3 separate regions of the Homo sapiens genome follow, and regions 1 and 3 are each linked to region 2. Evidence: promoter capture Hi-C in human tissues and cell types (Jung and others, 2019). All regions are on one chromosome and are shown on one strand. The core of a region is centred on a gene start or on the middle of the fragment in contact, and the rest is flanking DNA. Distances in the headings are between cores, read along the strand shown.

Region 1 (3,097 bases), core at 6-2,505, 230 kb after region 2:
CTCCCACCAAATCTCCACCAAAATTGTTCTTGATGAGGCCATTAGGTAGTCAGTCAAATTGATCCCCTGCCACCCCCTAAAGCATCTTTTCTCCTTAGCTTCCAAACACCACAACTTTCCTAGGTTTTCTCCTGGTTTTTCTTCTGGCTGTTCCTCCTCTGTATCATTTCTTAGCAACTCTTTTTCTATCGATTCCTTTAATTTTGGGAGTTTTTCAGGACTCAATTCTGAGTCTTCTTCCTCTCCACTCTAAAATCTCTCCTAAGATGATCTAACCTACTACCTTGGCTTTAAATGTCATCTAATGGTCAATGATGCTAGGATTTTAATCTGCAACCCAGACCTCTTTTACAAGCTCCTGACCCATATCCTACTGATCCCACTAAGCACAGTGCTTTAGATGGGCCTTGTGGCCAAACTGCTTCAGTTTCACAACCGATTCTTCTACTTACTTCTTGAGTAACCCTGAACAAGCCGGTGAGCACACTAAGACTCAGTTTTCCTATACGTAGATTGGAAGAAGAATAATAATAATTCTCACTTCACTGGGTTGCTGTTTAGGTTAAATGAGTTGATGAAAGCACCTACTATCTAGCACATTATCTATGATTACTTATACCATAGATGTCCATCAGAATATGTCAAAGGCATCTCAAACTTACTTTGATAGGTACAAAACTGGATCCTATCTTTTCTGCCCACCCCGATACGCATTTCCCCTGGTTCACTATCTTCTGTGACTTCTAAGGAGGAATTCTTAGATGACCCCAATGACCCTAGCCTTTGTATAATCTCCTCCCCTTGAGTGAGTGAATATCACGAAATCACACACTTGTGATAAAGGGATTTTGCAGATGTAATTATGGTCCTAAATCAACTGACCTTACGATAAGAAAATTATCCAAGTAGGCAGGACGCAGTGGCTCACGCCTGTAATACCAGCACTTTTGGCGGCCAAGGAGGGTGGATCACCTGAGGTCAGGAGTTCAAGATCAGCCTGGCCAATATGGTGAAACCCTATCTCTACTAAAAATACAAAAATTAGCTGGGCATGGTGGTGGGCACTTGTAATCCCAGCTACTTGGGAGGCTCAGGCAGGAGAATCGCTTGAACCCAGGAGGTGGAGGCTGCAGTGAGTCGAGATCGCGCCATTGCACTCTGGCCTGGGCAACAAGAGTAAAACGAAAGAGAGAAAGAGATGGGGGAGAGAGGGGGAGAGAGAGAGGGAGAGAGAGAGAAAGAAAGAGAGAGAGAGAGAAAGAGAGAGAAAGAGAGAGAGAGAAAGAGAGAGAGAAAGATAGACAAAGAAAGAAAGAAAGAAAGAAAGAGAAAGAAAGAAGGAAAGAAAGAAAGAAGGAAAGAAAGAAAGAAAGAAAGAAAGAAAGAAAGAAAGAAAGAAAGAAAGAAAGAAAATTACCCAAGTAGGCCTAACCTAATTACATGAGTCCCTTTAAATCCGTACCTAGAGGTCAGACAGAAGGGGGTTTAGAAGTCAGAAAGTTAAAGTATGGAAAGGATTTGACACACTTTTACTGGATTAAAGATTGAAGACCCAGGCTGGGTGCGGTGGCTCACGCCTGTAATTCCAGCACTTTTGGAGGCCGAGGCGGGTGAATCACGAGGTCAGCAGTTCGAACCAGCCTGGCCAACATGGTGAAACCCCGTCTGTACTAAAACTATAAAAATTAGCCAGGTGTGGTGGCAGGCACCTGTAATCCCAGCTACTCGGGAAGCTGAGGCAGGAGAATCGCTTGAACTCAGGAGGCAGAGGTTGCAGTGAGCCGAGACCGCACCATTGCACTCCAGCCTGGGCAACAGAGCGAGACGTGTCAAAAAAAAAAAAAAGAAAAAAAAAGGTGGAAGAGACAAATGAGAAGAATGAAGATAACCCCCAGCTAACAGCCAGCAAGGAAACTGGAACCTTGGGGAACAAATACAGGAACTGAATTCTACCAACAAAAATGAGTTTGGAAGTAGATTTTTACCCACAGCCTCCAGACAAGAACTCAGTCTGGCTAACACAATAATTTAGGTCTCATAAGGATTTATAATCTACTAAACTGAGAGCTAATAAATGGATGCTATTACAAGCCACTACATTTGTGGTAATTTGTTATGCAGCAATAGAAAATAATTACATCATTTCAATAAACAGCATCTTCAAACACACATTTGTTCCAGCCACAAAACCCCATGTCAATACAATACCAAGTTCTGCTGATTCTTTTTTTTTTTTTTTTTTGAGATGGAGTCTTGCTCAGTCACCCAGGCTGGAGTGCAATCAACGGCGTGATCTTGGCTCACTGCAACCTCTGTGTCCCAGGTTCAAGCAATTCTCCCACTCAGCCTCCTGAGTAACTGGGATTACAGGCACCTGCCATCATGCCTGGCTAATTTTTGTATTTTTAGTAGAGATGGGGTTTCGCCGTGTTGGCCAGGCTGGTCTCGAATCTCTGACCTCAGGTGATCTGCCTGCCTTGGCCTCCCAAAGTGCTGGGATTGCAGGCATGAGCCACCGCGCCTGGCCTTTGCTGATTCTTATTTCCTAAGTGAATCTCAAACACATTCACAATTGTTAATCTCAATTGTTACCTATTCTAAACCTTTATATTCCATTTGAATTTCCACAGTAGTTTCCTACCTGGTTTCCCTTCATATAATCTCTATACCCACTCTCCTCACAGAAATAGGAGTCATCTTGTTACAAAGCAAAACTAATCTCATCATTCTTCAACTGGAAATCTTTCAATGGCTTCACATGACACTCAATGTCTAAACTCTAGAAACCCCTGCATGAAATGGCCCTGGCTCCCTTCTCAGCCCCATTTCCTGTGACTCTCCTGCTTGAATGTCACACTCAAGCCAGACACCTTCCTTCCAGTAACTCCAGTGTGCCAAGCCATTTCCCATTGTGTTGGAAGACCATCTGTGTTGCTTCCTTTGATAGAAAGGCTTTGTTTCCCCGCTCTTCACCCCACAACAACCAGGGCCTCAGCTTCAACACGACTGCTTCCCAGAAGCTTGCCATCATCCCTTTTGGGTTCTCTCACAGAACTGTGTATTTCTTAACTGAGTTCATCATAATCGCAATCATAGG
Region 2 (3,482 bases), core at 560-3,059:
CAACCTGCACAGAAGGTGTCATTATGCCTACACCGCTGGGAAGCCACAAAGTAGACCCAGGACTGTGCAACTCCGAGAGGAAAAGAGAAAATGCTGCAGGTAAGCGGAGAAGCAGGTGAGCCCGACACGGAGGGCAAAGGCAAGCTGCCTCTGGGGCCCAGGGCACTGAACACCATCTCCTCAAAGGCTGACATAACTGAGAAGGGTCCACATTTTCCACCAAGTGGAGCCCGTGTAGGGTCGGTGCTATCTCCATGCCCCTGACACACCATGGCACCTGCGTTCACCCAGAAGGTACCTGCCCACAGCATGCATCCATCATTGAGAGTGCGCAAAACCAAGTTCTAATTTCCAGGCACTAATACCATAGGACACAAACATAAACCACCCTCCAGGAGGACACCTGACATCCCTCTCCTTTCTGGGTAGTCTGAAGTGAGAAGGTTGAAAATAGTGCAGATGTCCTTTCTTAGAGCAGCCCCGCCATCCATTCATTCACTCTTTCATTCATTTGTTCAGCCAACATGTGCTCACTGGGCCTGGGGAAGCCCAGGATGAAATGAGACAAACCCTCTGCCCTCTGGCCACGGTGTGCTGGTGCCTGCGCTTTAGGCGGGTACTAAAAGACAAGCAAATATTAAAGATACTCGCTTCCAAAACAAATAAGGCCACGTGGAGCTGTGCACTGGAATGGGATTCTGGATGCAATTTTATTTGATTGGGTACAAGAACCAATCCAGTTAAAGGGGTCATGAACCAACTCCAGGCACCAGGCTCCTACTCAGAGGCTGCCTCAGACCCCCTTCTGGCCCAGGCACCAACCCCTCACCCACCCAACTCCATCTCCCGACATTCTTCAACCACATTCCCATCTCGCTCCACAATATTCTCCCTCCAGGTCCCCCTGACTCTATTTCTCCTCTATTCCCAACCCTGACCTCTCTAGGTCGGCAGCCTTGATGCTACTTCTCCGAACGCCAGGACGCACATCCCAGCCTGCTTTCTACCACCACCCCACACACCTCGAGTCTGCGCTTCCACCCAGAACCCCTTAAACACCATATGTTTACAAACCAGATTCCCCAGGGGTCTATGTACAACACCCCATTCTCAAGACCCCATAAACACATCCTGATTCCCTGAGCACACCATACACACACTGTGGACTTCACCCATGTCCTGAGGGACCCCCTCACCCCATCACCTCCAACTTCTTGGAAGCCCCAGGCCGGCCCCTGACCTCCTGTGGTCCCAGTGGAGCAGCGGACTCGCTGAGACCCCCGGACACCCCAGACTCCGCAGAAGCCCGCCCTGCACGCTTGAACCCCAGGCGCCGGGACAGCCCCTGGCGCCCCCCCGGGCCCCCACACCGCGTGACTCCGGGGCACCCGGGCTCCCCCAGGCCCCGGTCCCGCGCACATCCCCTGGGCCGCAGCTCCCTCGCGGCCCGGCCGCGCCCCTGCCCGCGCCCCGCGCCCGGCCGCGCCTCGGGGGCCCGTTCCCGCGGAGGCCGCGGCGCCCCCCGCAGCCCAGGCCGGCGCGCCCGGAGCGTACCGTTGGCGATGAGCTTGGCCGACAGCTGCTTGACGAGCTCAGGGATCCGCTCCCACTGGCACTCGGAGCGGCAGCGCTCGATCTCCGTCTCCAGCCGCGAGCCTGCCTTCTTGGTCGCCATCGCGGCCTGGCCGGGCCCGGCCGCCCGCCCCGCAGGCCCCACCGCCGCCGCCGCGGCGCCCCCTCGCCGCCTCCCGCCGCCGCCGCGGGCTCGGGCTCCGGCTCCCGGCTCCGCGGCGTAACGGGAGCGCCGGCTGGGGAAGGGGCGGGGAGGCGGGCGGCGGCGGCGGGCGCGGCGGGGCCCCGGGCGCCGCGAGGAGCGGCCCCTGCCGGCCAGGGCCGGAGCCGCAGCACTGACCGGGGCCGGAGCCAGGGCTGGGGCAGGGGCGGGGGCTAGGGCGGGAGACAGGGGCCCGAGGGAGGAAAGGCGGGGTGGGCATGGAGGACAGGGAGAGGGACTGGGGGTGTCTGGGGCGGGGTGAAGACCGAGGGGAAGTGGGGATGGGGGTGGGGGAGCGGGGTAGGAGAGAGATCTGACCAAGGGCGGGTGAGGGGTCTGGTGGGGTAGGGGTCTGGGCAGGATGAAGGGGAGGGAGAGGATCGGGAGGGAGCTAGCGACAGCCTGGGAGCGGGTTGGATCCCCAGGAGTAGGGCCAAGAAAGGGCAGTGACCCTGGGGAAGGTCACCGCCCGGTGGGACCAGTGAGCCAGGTGTGAGGGGTGGGGGGAGGCCTGCCCGAGTTTGTCCTGCCATCTCAGGTGGCCAGCGGTTCCCTGGGGCCCGGTTGGCCTGTGCCCCTTAGCAGATGCCCCTCTGCCCCGCAGCCTTAGCCCCTACCCAGCCAGAGGTGGACGGAGACTCCTCCATCCCAGGCAAGGCACAGCACCTGCCAGGGGTGCCCTAGATGGCTGAGCGGAGCCAGGCAGGGGCTGCCACTCTCACACGCCAGCTCTCGGACCCCCTGAGGGGAAGGCACAGTCACTGGTGGGGCCTCCTGTCTTGGCCACCTAGACTGAGACCTAGGGAGGTGTCCCTCTGTGTTCTCTCAGTGAATCAACTGTCTAGTGATCACCTACTATGTGCTGGGCGCTGCTTTAGGTGCCAGAGATAGAATTGTGAGCTAAAAAAACAAAATTCCTGGCTTGAGAGAGCTTACATTCCAGTTTGGGGGAAAAATAAGCAAAATAAAATAGTAAACTAGACTGTAAAAATGGCTATTTGAAGAAACAGGGAAGGGTTCAGTGAGGAACATAAAGAGTTGGGACAGGCGGGTGGCTCATGCCTGTAATCCCAGCTACTCAGGAGGCTGAGGCAGGATGATTGCTTGAGCCCAGAAGGTGGAGGCTGCAGTGAGCAGTGAACGCACTTCAGCCTGAGCAAGTGTTGCCATTTAAAATGGAGCAGTCAGGGATGGCCTCACGGAGGTGGCATTAGACTTGAAGAAACTAAGGGGGAGCCATGAGGATATCTCTGGGGGAGGAGTATCCCAGGCAGAGAACACCACAAGTGCGAAGGCTCTGGGGTTAGAGCACACTGGGTGGGATGGAGAAATGGCAGAGGCCAGAGGGGCTGGGTGGAGCGAAGGAGAGGGGCCGAGGCAGGAGATGAACTCTGAGAGGTTGGGGGGAGTTCTGTGTAGTGCCTGGTGGGCCATTATAAGACCTTGGCTTTTGGCTGGGCACGGTGGCTCACGCCTGTAATCCCAGCACTTTGGGAGGCCGAGGTGGGCGGATCACGAGGTCAGAAGATCGAGACCGTCCTAGCTAACATGGTGAAACCCGTCTCTACTAAAAATATTTTTAAAAATTAGCCGGGCGTGGTGGCAGGCGCCTGTAGTCCCAGCTGCTGGGGAGGCTGAGGCAGGAGAATGGTGTGAACCCGGGAGGCGGAGTTTGCAGTGAGCTGAGATGGCAGCACTGCACTCCAGC
Region 3 (3,095 bases), core at 427-2,926, 170 kb before region 2:
CGATCCTCCCATCTTAGCCTCCCAAGGTGCTGGGACCACAGGCGTGCTCCCCACGCCCAGCTAATTTATAGAATTTTTTGTAGACCCGGGGTTTCAACATGCTATCCAGGCTAGTCTGGAACTACTAGGCTCAAGTGATCCTCCCACTTTGGCATCCCAAAACCCTGGGATTACAGGCATAAGCCACCACGCCCAGCTACTAAATGGCTTATTTCTAAGGTCCACTCAGTATATAGCAGCTTTTATAATTTTACAAATATTGGCTTTCCATGAATTTGTACATCAAAGAATATTTTTCTTTGGTGTTTATAAAAGTGAGATTGAAAAATCATGGTTTCTCTCATAATTATTCAGGAAAAATAATACACAATTATGAAGAAATTTTTAGATTTATTTTATCTTCTTTCACAAATAATAAATTTACAGAACCCTCAAAAAGAACTTCTTAGAATTATAATTTTCTCAGTTCAATTCATATTCTTCACGAATAAATCAAGTCATGGTTGCCTCTATGCAATACCAACCAACTGAAAAGCTGGCAATGATCTGTTGAGTTGAGGGTGTACATAAAGATAGTTCTGGCTAAAGGCCCCATGCTGGCCTCATCAAATGATTTTTCTCTGTTAACCACAGCACCGTGAAAGGAACAAACCAGAAGTGCTAGAAATCTTGGTATTTCTGGAGTGCATTAGGGCAACATCTGAAGGATTTCCAACTTGGCTAATGATGCATATTCAACTGCCAAATTTCTAATGAGGCACAACTGAAACATATACATTTTAAAAACCTTATTTCTACAACTTGGCTAATGAATTCAACTGACCACTTCACCCTCTGAAGGAAATAAGGCAAATGCCAAACAAAACAAGAAAAAGCTCCCTGTGTTGATCTCAAGTAGATGCTAAAATACTTGCTTCCCGTGGAGCAACTTCAGCAGCTAAGCTTCCTGTGGGAAAGCCCCTTTGGTATGCCACAGGCAACTCGCCGGACAGAAATCCTCAGGCCAGGCAGATGAGAGAGAGGACATTAGTGATCAGAAAAATTGCAAGCCTTCTGAACTCTGTAAATGAATCTAAAGCAGCCTCATAAACTCCGTGCCCATAAACTGAACACCTGGCTAGACTGCTCAGAAATACCTAAAAGACCTAAAAATGTCACCACAAGGATGCTCACAAAATGCTTCCCTTATCAAAGCACCTCCACATAATTAATTCAGTTTCTCTCCCATGAAGAAGAACCCACTCATCCTTTTATCCACTTACCCACCCATCCACCCAGCCAACCACCCACCCATCCACCTATCCATCCATCCACCATCCAACCATCCACCTACCCATCCATCCACCATCCACCCATCCACATTATGCAATATCTATAATGTGATGCCAGGCCCTATGCTAACTTCTGGGGAGCATGGAGATGAATCATGCTAGTGCCTTTCCTTGATGAGCTCCCACCCCCGCCCCAGAGGGAGAGACCCAGAATGACCATCATCATCGTGCAGTGGGAGCAGTGCCCAGAGATAGGCATGCTGGGCTGCTACTGGAAAGCATCGGATGGGCTTCCCAGATCACCTGGCTAGAACCCAAGGATGTTGTGGCATCTAACCCAGGGCTCTCTTAGATTCCATTTCCAACATTCTCTAGAGCTGAACCAAGAATATAGAGAAGGCTGATCAATGCTGACCCTAGTCCATAAGACACATATCTTGTAACAATAGTAACTACAATTTGTGAAGTTATCGACTATTACGCTTCTTGTCCAAGAACAGCCAGCAAATGAGAGAAAGCCAGAACCTTGCTGCCTTGTTTAGCCAATTCTCCTTGAATTTCCCTTCAGTCCTGATTACAGGGGCCATGGGATTCGTGCATTAAGTTTTTTAAAAAGTGCAAACCCTGGTTAAATCTATTGCTCAGGAATCTCTCGTTAGTTACTCACACAGGGTGACCAACTTGTCCTGGTTTGTCCAGGATGTTCCTGATTTTAGCACTGCAAGTCCCATGTTCTGGGAAAACGCTCAGTCCTCAAGAGATTGGGATGGCTGATCACCCTATATGCACACATCATACCACACTTAAACTCAAGCTAGGACAGAAAGGGGAAAGCAAAGCAAGATCGTGTACCCTGTGCCACAATGAGTGATAAACAAACACCACCATGCCACCCCTGCCTCCTGGAGCACCAGGCTTTATGCATACTGTGGGCCATGCAATGAAAGGTGCTCTCAACTGTTTTCAGGATGGCTTTTCTCAGTAGGATGTGAGAGCCTGCAGAAGAAGCAAGTCATATCAATTCAGCATCTTCAGAAGCTTTGCAAACAATATTATGTTCTTCTTCACTATACTTTAGTACAGGGCAAATGAATTGGTTCAGCTGCCTGGGTTGAGCTTATGAGTGTAGGAACAGGTGAGGGTCTCACATTCAGATGCAGCCACCCAACCTGGATGTCTTCAAAAATCACCTCTTTGGATCCACTAGAGAACAAATATGTCTGAATTCTGGCAGTCATAATTAAGAGTTAACTTTCTTGTGCTATATCTGCAACCCCATCCCTTCCTGAATTGTGTTTTCTTTTTAAACAAAAAATGCAAAACATTAGTATAAACAGAATTGTGGGGAGAATATTTAAAACAAATAGTAGAGAAAGTACTTCTCATCAAAGTAGTTTTAAATTATCCATTTACATTTAAGAAGTAATACAAATCATTTTCACTTACTTAAAATCTTTCCCTTAAAGATTTTTGTTAGGACTGCAATTCACTAGAATAGTCCTAGTTAATGTGTACTTGAAATAAAATGAAAAACATTCTATATTTCACACAAATTCTAATTTAGGTTAGCCTTCTGCAATATCATCAGTTAGGTTAGCGGGATTTTATTACTCTTTATTCCCATATGAACTAATATTTTAAAAATCTCTTCGAATTTAAACTTAAGCAAAAGATGAACAAAAAAGAATTCAGGCCAATGGAGCAGCTGTTATATAACATGAAGTTATACTGGCAGCTCAAGGCAGACCACCACTGTGGCTGTTTTTAGAGAGCCAGTAAGATGTGCTGATTTAAGAAAAGTGAAACAGATGTAATGACCACTTT

Evidence for each region. Contacts are between HindIII fragments. The study calls those that stand out against the background at their distance.
Region 1: a contact is called between a fragment that was not itself captured here and the fragment with the promoter of TTC7B in region 2, in 1 of the 25 tissues and cell types used here (dorsolateral prefrontal cortex).
Region 3: a fragment that was not itself captured here is called in contact with the fragment with the promoter of TTC7B in region 2 in 2 of the 25 tissues and cell types used here (dorsolateral prefrontal cortex and mesenchymal stem cells).

The regions. Positions count from the first base shown.
Region 1 is chr14:91,043,037-91,046,133 of GRCh38, forward strand. The region is part of intron 1 of RPS6KA5 (ribosomal protein S6 kinase A5); the gene reads right to left. Among named protein-coding and RNA genes, the nearest start is that of RPS6KA5, 16 kb to the right of the region's middle. The HindIII fragment of the contact is 6,308 bases long and covers 1-3,097 here.
Region 2 is chr14:90,814,621-90,818,102 of GRCh38, forward strand. It overlaps TTC7B (tetratricopeptide repeat domain 7B), which reads right to left and starts at 1,810. Exons shown (of 20, transcript NM_001010854.2): 1 at 1,555-1,810. The coding sequence starts at 1,675. RefSeq lists a silencer at 1,804-1,983. The HindIII fragment of the contact is 18,929 bases long and covers 1-3,482 here.
Region 3 is chr14:90,648,454-90,651,548 of GRCh38, forward strand. All of the region lies in intron 13 of TTC7B (tetratricopeptide repeat domain 7B), which reads right to left. TTC7B-AS1 (TTC7B antisense RNA 1) reads left to right here. Exons shown (of 5, transcript NR_110134.1): 5 at 1-438. Among named protein-coding and RNA genes, the nearest start is that of TTC7B-AS1, 7.4 kb to the left of the region's middle. The HindIII fragment of the contact is 3,294 bases long and covers 30-3,095 here.